3 separate regions of the Homo sapiens genome follow, and regions 1 and 2 are each linked to region 3. The links are contacts of gene promoters, found by promoter capture Hi-C in human tissues and cell types (Jung and others, 2019). All regions are on one chromosome and are shown on one strand. The core of a region is centred on a gene start or on the middle of the fragment in contact, and the rest is flanking DNA. Distances in the headings are between cores, read along the strand shown. Region 1 overlaps SLIT3 (slit guidance ligand 3). Region 2 holds the start of LOC105377713 (a long non-coding RNA gene). Region 3 holds the start of SLIT3 (slit guidance ligand 3).

Region 1 (4,054 bases), core at 1,420-3,919, 270 kb before region 3:
CTTTGTTACACAGTTAGAGGTGCCCTTGAGGGATTTTTTAATTGAATGTGGAAGAGAGAGCAGACAGCATGGACAAGACTTAGAAGAGTAAGCATGGTAGAAAATAAAAAGCACTACTTTGGATTAGGTGATGTGGTTCCAATCCTGCACCTCCATGTCCTGGATGTGTAACGTAGGACAGGCCACATAACCAACCCCTCTGGCCCTCATTTTCCCCATTTGTGACAAGGGGCTAATAATCCAAACTCAGCGGGTTATTAGGATGCCTAATTCATGTCAGTGAAAGTCGACTGTAAATGGGAAGGTACTATGAAAATACAGGATGTCATTATCATTAACCATGTCCATATATACAAAGTAATTATAATTACAGCTCTGAGTAAATATGAAAGAACATTTTTTTTATCTCTGTGTCCTGAAAATAAGTTACTGGAAACCAAGACTTTTGTGTCCTTAGGTTAGAAGTTTGGATTTGTATTTCATAAATCTACCTTTTTTATGCTAGAAACTTTACAATTGATGAATAAAAATCACTTTAATCTTTAGAACAATCACATTTGCTCAGAATTATAAAAATAGTCATATTTAGTTCATACCATGTCTTCTAAGCCTTACTCACTTATGTGCCAGTCATTTTTTTTTTTTACCATATATGTGTAAATAGTAACTTGATGTTTTACTTAAGTTGAACTTATATAGATTCCCCTCCATGTTTTAGTTTCGTTTTTTTTTTTTTCAGTGTAAAGAATACTACATGTGAAGTCATGGAGTCGATCTGCTAGTTATTTTTTTTTTTGTCCTAATTCACATGAAAATAGTTGGAGGACTGTTAACATATAATCTAAACTATCTAACAGGACCTCATATAACACTCATGAATACTATGCTTGGGAAACAAAAGCTTATTCTACTCATTTTGTAAAATGAATTTTATTGTGTATATTGAAGGAACAACATGATATGGGATACAAACACATAGTAAAAAAGATACCACAGTGAAGCAAATTAACATAGCCATCATCTCATAAGTATCCATTTTTCCTTGATTTTTTTTTTTTTTTTTTTTTTTTTTTTGGTGGCAAGAGCAGCTGAAATCTACTCCTGTAGCATGAATCCCAAATATAGCACAGTTTTCTTACCCATAGTCTTCCGGTTGTACATTAGGTCTCCAGACCTGGCCACCCTCCCTACTTAATACAGACCTCCATCTCCCATCTCCTCCCTAGCTATCCCCTGCCTGGTAATCACTGTTTTGTTCTCTATTTCTGTACAGTTGGGTTTTTGTTTGTTTGTTTGTTTTTAGATTCCACATATACTTGAAACAATGCAATCTTTTTCTTTCTTTGTCTGGTTTATTTCACTTAACACAGTGCACTCCAGGCTCGTCTATGTTGTGGCAAAGGCAAGATCTTTTTTAGGGCTGAATAATATTCCAATCTAGACATATACCACAGTGTATTCATTTGTCTGTCACCGGACACTTAGGTTGTTGCCTATGTTCACTGTCACAACGCTGCAGTGAACACAGGCATGCAGGTCTCTTTATGAGGCGGTGATTTCATTTCCTTTGGGTATGTGCCCAGAAGAGAGATTGTTAGGTCATCTGGTAATTTTATTTTTAATTTCCTTAGGAATATCCATACTATTTTACATAACAGCTGGACCAATCTACATTCCCAGCAACAATGTACAAGGGTTCTCTTTTCTTCATACCCTCACCAACATTTGTTATCTTGTGACTTGATAGTTGCCATCCAAATGGGTGTAAGGTGGTATCTCATCTGGTTTTGATTAATAATTAATTAATGATGAATGATGTTGAGCACCTTTTCATATACCTGTGGGCCATTTTTGCATATTCTCTGTAGAAATGCCTATTCAGGTCTTTTGCCCATTTTTAAATTGGGTTATGTGGTTTTTCCACTATTGTATGATTTTTTTTTTTTTTTTTTTTTGAGATGGAGTCTCACTCTGTCACCAGGCTGGAGTGCAGTGGCACAATCTCGGCTCACTGCAACCTCCACCTCCCGGGTTCAAGTGATTCTCCTGCCTCAGCCTCCCGAGTAGCTGGGACTACAGGTGTCCACCACCACGCCCGGCTAATTTTTTGTATTTTTAGTAGAGACGGGTTTTCACCATGTTGGCCAGGATGGTCTTGATCTCTTGACCTTGTGATCCACCTGCCTCAGCCTCCCAAAGTGCTGGGATTACAGGCGTGAGCCACCACACCCAGCCTTTTGTATGAGTTCTTTATGAATTTGGGATATTAACCCTTTACCATATATATGGCTTGTAAATATTTTTTTCCCAACCCATAAGCTGTTTCATTTTGTTGATTATTTCCTTTGCTATGCAGACACTTTTTAGTTTGATGTGCTCTCATTTATTTGCTTTTGCTTTTGTGTCCTGAGCCTTTGGTGCAATATCCAAAAAAAACCTGTCAAGGCCAATCAATTGTCCAGGAGCTTTTTCCCCGTGTTCTCTTCTAGGAGTTTTATGGTTTCAGATCTTACATGTAGGTCTTTTATCCATTTTGAGTCTATTTTTTGTGAGTGGTATAAGTTAAGGGTCCAATTTCGTTCTTTTACATGTGGAAATTCAGTTTTCTCAGCACCATTTATTGAACAGACTATCCTTTTCCCATTGTGTCCTCTTGGTGCCCTTGTGGAAAATTAGTTGACTAGTAAACCATTTATATTCTAGGTCTTTTTCAATATAAAATTAACATGGCCTTCCACTGGCCAAGTGGTGCCTTGGAATCACCTGGAGTGTTTCTAAAAGTCATAAGGCCCAGCTAGACGCTAGATCAAATAAATAAAAATCTCAGTTCATGGGACCCAAGCCTCAGGATTTTTAAACATTTCCTATGATTTTTTTTTTTTTTTGAGACAGAGTCTTGCTCTGTCACCCAGACTGGAGTGCAGTGGCTTGCAATCACTGCTTACTGCAGCCTTGACCTCTCCATGCTCAGGAGATCCTCCCACCTCAGCCCCTTAAGTAGCTGGGACTGCAGGTACAAGCCACCACGCCCAGCTAGTGTGTGTGTGTGTGTGTGTGTGTGTGTGTGTGTGTGTGTGTGTGTTTTGGTAGAGACGGGGTTTTGTCATGTTGCCCAGGCTGGTCTTGAACTCCTGAGCTCAAGCGATCTGCCCACCTTGGCCTCCCAAAGTGCTGGGATTACAGGTGTGAGCCACTAGTGCCCAGCATCCTTAAGATAATTTTTATGTGAACTGAGACTTAGAACCACTAACTTAGATTCTTGGATGCCTTCTAGAACTTCTAGGATTAGACAAATATTGTGGATAGACTGTAAGAGAAGAACCTGGCCATAGTGGAGACAATCACTGTTATGTTATCCAGAGGAGAGGGTCATCTTGATCAATAATATTAACAGTAGTAGTAAGAGTAATACTGCTACTACTGATGGCAACATTGAAGGCCAACTTTATGTCAGTATTCTTCCAAGTGCTTTATAAGAATTACTTCATTTAGGCCAGGCACAGTGGCTCACGCCTGTAATCCCAAAACTTTGGGAGGCCGAGGCAGGTGGATCATGAGGTCAGGAGATCGAGACCATCCTGGCTCACACGGTGAAACCACGTCTCTACTAAAAACACAAAAAATTAGCCAGGCGTGGTGGCGGGCACCTGTAGTCCCAGCTGCTCGGGAGGCTGAGGCAGGAGAATGGCATGAACCCAGGAGGTGGAGCTTGCAGTGAGCCAAGATCGCACCACTGCACTCCAGCCTGGGTGACAGTGAGACTGCATCTGGAAAAAAAAAAAAAAAAAAAAGAATTACCTCATTTACTCTTCACAACAAGACTACAAAGTGAGTACCACGATAATCTATTTCCAAGATGAGGCATCTGAGGCCCAGAGAGGTACAGTCACTTGCCCAAGGTCACACAGTACTAAGTAGTAAATCTGGAATGAGAGGCTCCTTGAAAGCAATCCTAAATTTCTATCCTTTCTTGATGGTTTTCTACTTGAAACAGTTAATATCGTAGAGTCTTGAATCCTGTTACATCAACTCCAGCATCTCCTTTCTCTGAGCC
Region 2 (3,929 bases), core at 168-2,667, 420 kb before region 3:
ATTTAGTTTTTGCTAGACCAAACATGTGCACTTGTTTTCACTAAGAACGCAGGCCTGCTTGGATCTCAACGAGTAATCAATCTGTAAAGACCGACCCATCAGGCCTCCAGAGCGTGCAAACTGGCCCTGCAAAACACTCATGCCAGGCCTCCTTCCAGGCTGTTCCCGCACAGCCACAGGCTGCAGAAGCCTCTCTGAGGACTATGGCGTGGTCGGGGGGTGCAGAGCCGGGGGCTAGGGACACAATGAGCTCTTTACACTTTCTTCAGATATAAAAGGTGTCTCTCTCTCTCTCTCTCACACACACACACACACAGTGCTATACATACACATTATTTTTTAAAAGAACACCCGAAAAACCCTCAAATATTAAGGTAAAAAAAAAACGTTGCAGATCTAACTACTGCTACCAATTACGAGATATATATATATATATATATATATATATATATGAAATTCCACCAATATGACCTCACAATATACAGTCTATTATAACCTATTATTTTTGCTTGCTATATTGAGAACATCTGTCCCTGTCATTAATAGTGCATTGATATCAACATTTTTAATGGTTGTATATCGTCCAATTGTATGAGTGGCTATATGGGTCCCAAATTGTTGGGTAGGCATTTATTTATTTGCTATTTAATGAAAACACTAGGGTGAACTTCTGTGCATGCACATTTTGGGGACACTTGTCTAACTATCTCCTTGGTACGGGGTCCTAGAAGGAGAACTTGCTGGTCACAGGTTAAATGGGTCCTGAGTTGACCTACGGACAGATTGTACCTGTGGACACTCCATGCTGATTTTCCAAGGGCACCTAATCAAAAGCTTTAGATGACTCCAGTTATATTTGGCAGGAGACATCAGACGACTGCCCTCCACTAAAATCTGGGCAGTCTAAATGAACATTTTGCAAAGGGGCAGGAGGGAAAAGAGGAAGCAGAAAAGAGGTGTCCACTTTTTTCTGATCTCCCATCTGCTGCTGGGACAAGCCATGTGCTCTGAGCAGCTAGCTAAAACGAAACTTGACGATCATCTGGGGCTACTTTTAGGCCCACAAAACAAGGCTGACTTGGGGTAGAGTGCCGGTGTGAGTACTAGTGGCTTCTGGGGCTGAGTAACAGGGTGCTCCCTATCTCAAATCCAGTTTCCTCTGTCTGCAACCGATGTAAGTAAATTCAGATGCACAATGAGCGCTGTCTCAGGCTCCCCCAGCCAGGCCTGATTCAATGAGCAGGGCTCCAGCCTGGAGTCGGGGCGCTGAACAAAGCCCACGATGACAGCAGAGGTCAGGCGGTGTCACCAAGGCCACTCAGCTGCTCTCCATCAGCCTCCGGAGCAGGGGCCCAGGTCCTGTCATCTGACTAATGCAATTTCCACCAGGCATCTGGGCAGCACCCGAGGCTCTGGCAGTCACAATGAGTCCAGTCTTTTCTGCCAAATGAAGCTGGTCTGTAGGCCACCGAGCCTTTGCCCACTACCCTCCCAGGATTGGCTGCTCTCTCTGGCGGCTCTGGAAGATGAGCCCCAGTCACACTTTTGGAAAATGGTTGATGATCAAAATCAGAGGCAGGGGGAGCAAACAGGAGAGAGGTTTAGAGCTGTCAGCTTGAACCATAGCTGGAAGCTGGATGAGGGGGCATGTGTTCCAGTAATGCACTAACCTTGTTTGAGTAGACAACATCCCATAATACACTGGGAGGAGTAGCAGTCGTACAAAGGTTCTGATTTGCAATACGGTGGGATGAGGAGAGGAGAGCGATATTTAAGCAGAAAAATCTGGCCATGTTGCTGGGAGACCTCCCACACAGGCAAAATCCTGCACTTGGGTGGGGCAGCGCTTTGGTTTCTGTTCACTATTTTCTTGCTGTAAATATAACCAGCCTTGCTCCTACTTTACGGAGCCAGTTGAAACACAGCTTTCTTCCCATCTCCCTGTCACTGCTTTCCTCCTGTCCCAATTGAGCAAAACAGTAGATTGTAGGGAATTTATCTGATCCCCATGACAATCTGCTTGTAAATTTTATTAATTTTATTTTCCATTGAGCTTCCCTTCTCCGGCTAACAATACTGCTGCCATCCATCTGCAGGACTGTATATTGATTTCATAAATACCTCCAGTGGGCTGACAAACTGACAGCTTCAATGGTGTTACTGATGGGGCGTGGAGGAGGGTTCAGGGCTGGGCGCTTCATTTTCGGTAACAGTCCCTTCACAATTATCGCAGGGCCTTTGTGAGAGTTCCTAATAGTGTGTTTATCTCTACGTGGTGCCAGAGCATGGAGCTATCATTAAGTACTATCCTCGAGAGAGACAAGAGCCACCATTTTCCACTGACACTTAAATAAAAATAACAAAATCTATCCACGATGCCCAAGAGCCTAGCGCTGGCCAATTTCCTGTTGGGGTTTTAGTGTCTCCCCTTTCACGAGGGAAGCAGCTCAGGGCTGAGGAGGGCAGACATGCTCAGAAGTGACCTGAGAAGGGGATTTTTGTTTTTCTAAACACTAGAAGAAAGGCATGAGATTGGAGTAGGGTGCAGGAGTGGGAGGTGTGCAGTATTTTTCTGGGTAAGTAAAGGAAGATGGCTGGTGGGAAAGGCTTTCTTGGTTGGGGAGTAGGGCTAGGAATTGGGATGCCTTTTTAAATAATTAGGGCTCTGAGAGAAAAGGAGAACTGCATTAGCTAAAGTGCATTTTCCAGCTTCCGGAAAATGATTAACCAACTGATTATTCCATCCAAAAACACAAGACCAAAGAGGACTTATTAAGGAGACAGTAAGTCAAATAGGAGTTGGCAAGAACCAATATATCCCCCTTCCAGCCACCCTCCCCACCTTTTTAATTTACTAAAATGCTTTGGACACAGATTAACTTTCTTCGCAAATTTATTATTGCTTCATCTACCCTTGAAATGGGAACTGCAGACACTTTGATAAATGGATTGAAAGGCTGTCTAGTTCCAGTGGAGCTTTTGAAATGCTTCCTGGGGCTCTCCCTGCAATGTCAGGCATGCTTTGTTCTTGGAGGAGCAGAGAATGACAGTTCCCACCTTCACCCCTACCCCTGCAAGACTAGGAGGAGGAACATGTTCTCCTCTTTGCCCTGCTGGGGACAATGCACTTGTCTTGGTCACATTCATGCTACCAGGAAATCCTGTCTGTGTTAAATGGCAGTTGGTGGAGGGAATTTGATCCTAGAGGTCACTCCCAAATTAATTCCGAAGCTACAAAATGGGGTTTGGAAGTTCCTCAAAACTTGGAGATTTCTTGTTTCTGAAGTGGGTGGGGCTAATTATGAGCTGTATGATCATTCAAGTTACTAAAATGCTCTTTGCCTCAGTTTCCCCATCTTTACAGTGGGGTTGTTAGTTTTACTAACCTCATCAGTTAGTTGTGAGAGCGAAATGATTACACGTAGAGCACCGTGTGGAATCATTTGCACATTAGTTGTGTGAATCTGGTCAACTGCATGACTCTGTCTCACATCTCCAACTGTCAAATGGGACTGCTTTCCTAAGTCATACGGATAGTGCGCCCAGAAACATCACAGTCCCACCTGGAAGTCTATACAGGTGCCATTATGACTTATTAGACTACAGCTTGTAGTGCTCTGCAGAGCACTCTGCACAGCACCTAGAACACCGTAGGCACTCAATGAATAGCTGCATTTCCTTTTTGTAATTTCCTCCCATTTAGCACTGGATTGACATTGCTGAAAATGTCCTTTTTCAGCACCCCCAGGACATATGCCTTCAACTCTACAAAGAATAAAATACGTAAATGTTGCTGTACTCTTTCCATAAAATCTGAGGGAGGGATTAAAAAGTTTCTCTCCTCTGTCATCTAGACAGGGGTAGCCATGTTTGATTCTAGATTCTTTTGGATAAAACAAGAGAGCTGGATTCAGAAATAAGAGGTCTGT
Region 3 (3,963 bases), core at 1,145-3,644:
AACACTTCACTAGCTGCACGACCTTGAGTAAATGACAAGATGGCTTAACTGTGAAAGGGAGTAATAAGCATTGCCTATGTAACTAACAGGACTGTTGGAGTGATTCAATGAGATAATACATATACACAAATCAAGGCATGAAAAGCATTTATCAAACATTAGCTATAATTATTATTTCACTAACTCATGTGGCTAGCACTGGTGTGACGAGGAGGGGAACTTAGTTTACAAGTTATAGGTATCTAAAAATACCACTAAAACAAGTTTTTCACTCCTATGGACTAACTTAATGTCTGAATTAAGGTGTGAAAACCTGGATTCTAGCCCCTTTATTGCCGTCAACTTGCTGTGTTTTCTTGGGCAAGTCATTTTACACTTCCAAGCCTGGTTTTCGACATGTGTTAATAAAGATTCGGCTCTCACCCTTTAGGATTCTGTGGTTCAACCCAACAAAACAATCACTGCACTTGTGGAAAAACAAAAAAGTACTGAGCCAAAGGAAAAAGAGAGCACCAGGAATAAGGAAGACAGTTCTGCTGAGTCTCCACCCAGAGATGCACAAAGAAGTGGAAGAGAAGAGGAGGTGGGGTGATAGGAGGTGACTAGCAGGAATAACACACTCTAGGACAATGCTTGTCATCACTACTCTCTTCCAGCCTGAAGTCAAGAAAGCAGAGTGGAAGATCCAGGCGCCTACCCCTAAGGCACATGAGGAAGGGGAGAAGAGGGAGAGCAAGACACGGAGGGAATCTACCACACTAGAGCAAACCCTCACCCACTTCTCGGCTGGGTTCCCAGTAAGGCTTCCCACCCACTCCAGCGTTTCTCCCCCACTCCCTTACCCCACCCCAACTGCGGACTAAGAGGAGCCCACCCCGGAGTCCAAGTTTTGAATCTGGTCCGAGGATCAAAATGATAAATGTTTCCAAAACGTTGACATATGAAAAGTAAATATTTGGTTGCACAATTGGGGCTAAAACTAGGGTCAATCCACCCCATTCTCCAAGCGCCTCTCCATTCGCTGCCAAGCCCAGGATCTGAGGCTGAGTGCGGTTTGTAAGATTATAACGCTCGGTCTCATTTGAAGGGCTGTCAGCATTTCCATTCTCCGGCCCCTTCGTTCGGGGAGGCATTTATAACCGAGCCATAAAAAATTCACCCGGGGCTGCAACTTGGCATCTCCCAGACTGCGCTCCAGGCAGAGCGGGTTTTGCGAGCACCCACTCTGAATCTGTCCAGTTCCTCAGAAGTTAAACCTTCACCCACACTCTCAACTTTCCTTGCAAGGGCAGCCAGAGAGCGGCTGGCCCATTCTGATCTCCAAGCAGGTCAACAGTCTCGGGCCCTCTCTCCCGCCTCCGCGCCTTGACGGCCCATCATCCTATAGCTTTCTCCTTCGCCCGCCCCCCTTTTTAACGAGCGCAGACCCCTGACCCTCACCCTAAGACCTTGAGGCTGCAGTGCTCTTGCCTCCCCTCGCCTCTCCTCAGCTACTCCTTGGAAGCTGTCAGCGGGCCCTGCGTCTGGAACCCTCACCCCTGGAGAGGCACTGCTCTTTGCCCATCGCTGGGGGTTTCGAGACCTCTCTTTCCAGATCTGACCAAGCCTACAGACCCCCAGCTCGGAGAGTGAGGGATCGTATCCAGGAAGGGATGAGAATAGAGACTGCATCCAGGGAGGCCGAGGGGAAAGGACGGATCTGGCGCCTGGGGCCCCCTCGGTGGGACCCAGGTGGGTGGCCCGCGTGGGGTGGGGCAGGGGTACTCACAGGCGCTCAGCGTTGCGGGGGATGCCCCGAGGAACCGCGCGGAGGCCCAGCCCGTGGCAGTCCACGCTGGCAGCGGAGCAGGTACACTTGGTGGGGCAGGCGACGGCTGGAGGCCCACTCAGGACGCTCGCCAGCGCCAAGGCCAGCGCCAGGCGGGCGCGCACGGCGGCGCCGACCCCTGCCCACCCGGGGGCCATGGTGTGCAGGGCCCCGCTCCTGGAGGAGGCTGCCTCTGCGGGGCAAGACGCGTGGAGCCCGAGGAGGCGCGCGGGGAGCGCGGGCGGCCTGGGGAGCGGGCGGCGGAGTTAGCGCGGAGGAGGGGCGAGCTCGGTGCTCAGGCGCACGGGGCGCGGGCGGAGCGGGGCGCTCCGGGCGGCGGCGGCGGCAGCAACAGCAGCTCCATCGGCGGGGCCGGCGCTGCCCCGCTGCGCATCGCTGGGAGTGCCCAGGTGCGGAGCGCCCCCTGGCCCCGCTGGCCCGCGGGCCGGGTTGGGGACCTGGGGCGAGCGCAATGGGGCGTGGCGCCCGGGGAGGTCCGGCTTGGGGCTGGGCTGGGGAGCGCGGCGGCTGCGGCTGGGGCACGGGGCGGCCGGGTGAGCTGGCCGGCGCTCGCTCTCTCCATTCAGTGAGCACGGCAGACACCGGAGACGCGGGGCCCACCCCTCCGGCCCCCCCCCGACCAAGAAACGCCAACTCCGCCTCCCATTGGCTGCGCCGCGCGTCATGTCGACTAAGTTGGGAACTTTGCTGGAGCGACCGAGAGCCTGGAGGGAGGAGGCAGTAGAGGAGGGAGAGAGAAGGAACCAGGGAAGGAAAGGGGCTCGGCCAGCAGGGCCCCTGGAAAGAAACACTGAAACTCATTCACTGTTAAGATCCAAGGACGGATAAGGCTCCTGACACTTTTTTTTTTTTAATTTTTGCACTGAGCTGAGCACTCTACTCATATTCTTTACTTAAGTCCACGATCTTCCAAGGGGTCGTCTGAAAACAGCTCAGAGAAGTGAAGCGACTTGCTGGAGGTCGCACAGCTGCTAGGGACGCCAAACCATGGCAGTGTCGCCCACGAAGCCGCTTCCCTACCGCACCTAGTACTCATGGCAGAGATCCACAATTTTGCCTGAAGAGCCTTGGTTGACACCAATGTACTCCACAGCTACACACACACACACACCGTGGTCCATGTTGTTGAGGTCACTGCTGGCAAACCTTACCCGGAAACTTGCCCTGCTTTGCCCAGACCCAGCGCTTGGTGGACTGGTAAAAGTAGTGATGGCAGCGACTTGGACCCCTGGATTGACAATGCCTTGTTCCATCCTCGGGTTTCTGCTTCCTGACTGGGTGACTCTGGGCCAATCGTGTCATCTCTGAGCCTTCGTTTTCTCAAATCCGGGGCCACAGTCCTACCTGGCCTCACCTCCCTGGGTTGTTTGGAGCATCACAGAAGAGAACGTGTTTTTGCAAAAGTCATTCGCAGACGAGGCATCCCTTCTGTCCCCAGCGCCTTCTTTCTTCCAGCGCCCGCTTTAAATTGGCTAGGTCTGAGCTTTTCCAGATGCCAGTGGGGAGGGGCGTGTGCGTTAGAGGCTCCATAAATACTTGTAGGAATGATTTTGTTTGTTTGTTTGAAAGGAAAGGGCAGGAACTGGAGGAAGTATTGCCCAGATTTCCTTGAGGTCCCCTCACACTGAGAAGGCCTGAATGAGCCCTGCATATATATACACACACACTGGTGCCTACGTATTCACAGCCACGCACACACTCTCACATACTCAGGCTCACACACACCCATTTATACACCGGCAATCACACACACGTGTACATGCATGCTCGCACACACACTCACATAGTGACAACTATACTCCTGAGAGCGCTTCTCTTTTCTTTCATAAGAATACTATTCTGATTTCTTCTACCTCATTTTCCTTCAAGGAAACTTTCAACTACTTGACCACATCCTGTGAATATATAGTAGAGTTGTAGATTTTATTGTATTATACTTAGCAGATTTTCAAAGTCTTAGCTTTGGGCACCCACTTGCGCGCGCGTACACACAAACACACACATACGCACACTCACTCAAACACACACACTCGAGTCCCTTCATCATTCATAAACACATTAGGTGCAATTTACTGCTGTTATTCTTGGGAACGGCTTTCTGTACAGATGCTGTTGTTATCGCCCCCTGGTGGCTG

What was found. The method cuts DNA at HindIII sites, captures the fragments that hold promoters and counts their contacts. A contact is called where the count stands out against the background at its distance.
Region 1: a fragment that was not itself captured here is called in contact with the fragment with the promoter of SLIT3 in region 3 in 3 of the 25 tissues and cell types used here (adrenal gland, dorsolateral prefrontal cortex and neural progenitor cells).
Region 2: a fragment that was not itself captured here is called in contact with the fragment with the promoter of SLIT3 in region 3 in 2 of the 25 tissues and cell types used here (heart left ventricle and thymus).

The regions. Positions count from the first base shown.
Region 1 is chr5:169,031,877-169,035,930 of GRCh38, forward strand. All of the region lies in intron 4 of SLIT3 (slit guidance ligand 3), which reads right to left. The region is part of intron 3 of SLIT3-AS1 (SLIT3 antisense RNA 1); the gene reads left to right. Among named protein-coding and RNA genes, the nearest start is that of SLIT3-AS1, 21 kb to the left of the region's middle. The HindIII fragment of the contact is 5,303 bases long and covers 19-4,054 here.
Region 2 is chr5:168,884,130-168,888,058 of GRCh38, forward strand. All of the region lies in intron 4 of SLIT3 (slit guidance ligand 3), which reads right to left. It overlaps LOC105377713 (a long non-coding RNA gene), which reads left to right and starts at 2,443. Exons shown (of 4, transcript XR_941197.3): 1 at 2,443-2,576. The HindIII fragment of the contact is 4,078 bases long and covers 1-3,456 here.
Region 3 is chr5:169,298,745-169,302,707 of GRCh38, forward strand. It overlaps SLIT3 (slit guidance ligand 3), which reads right to left and starts at 2,395. Exons shown (of 36, transcript NM_003062.4): 1 at 1,769-2,395. The coding sequence starts at 1,965. The HindIII fragment of the contact is 12,348 bases long and covers 1-3,963 here.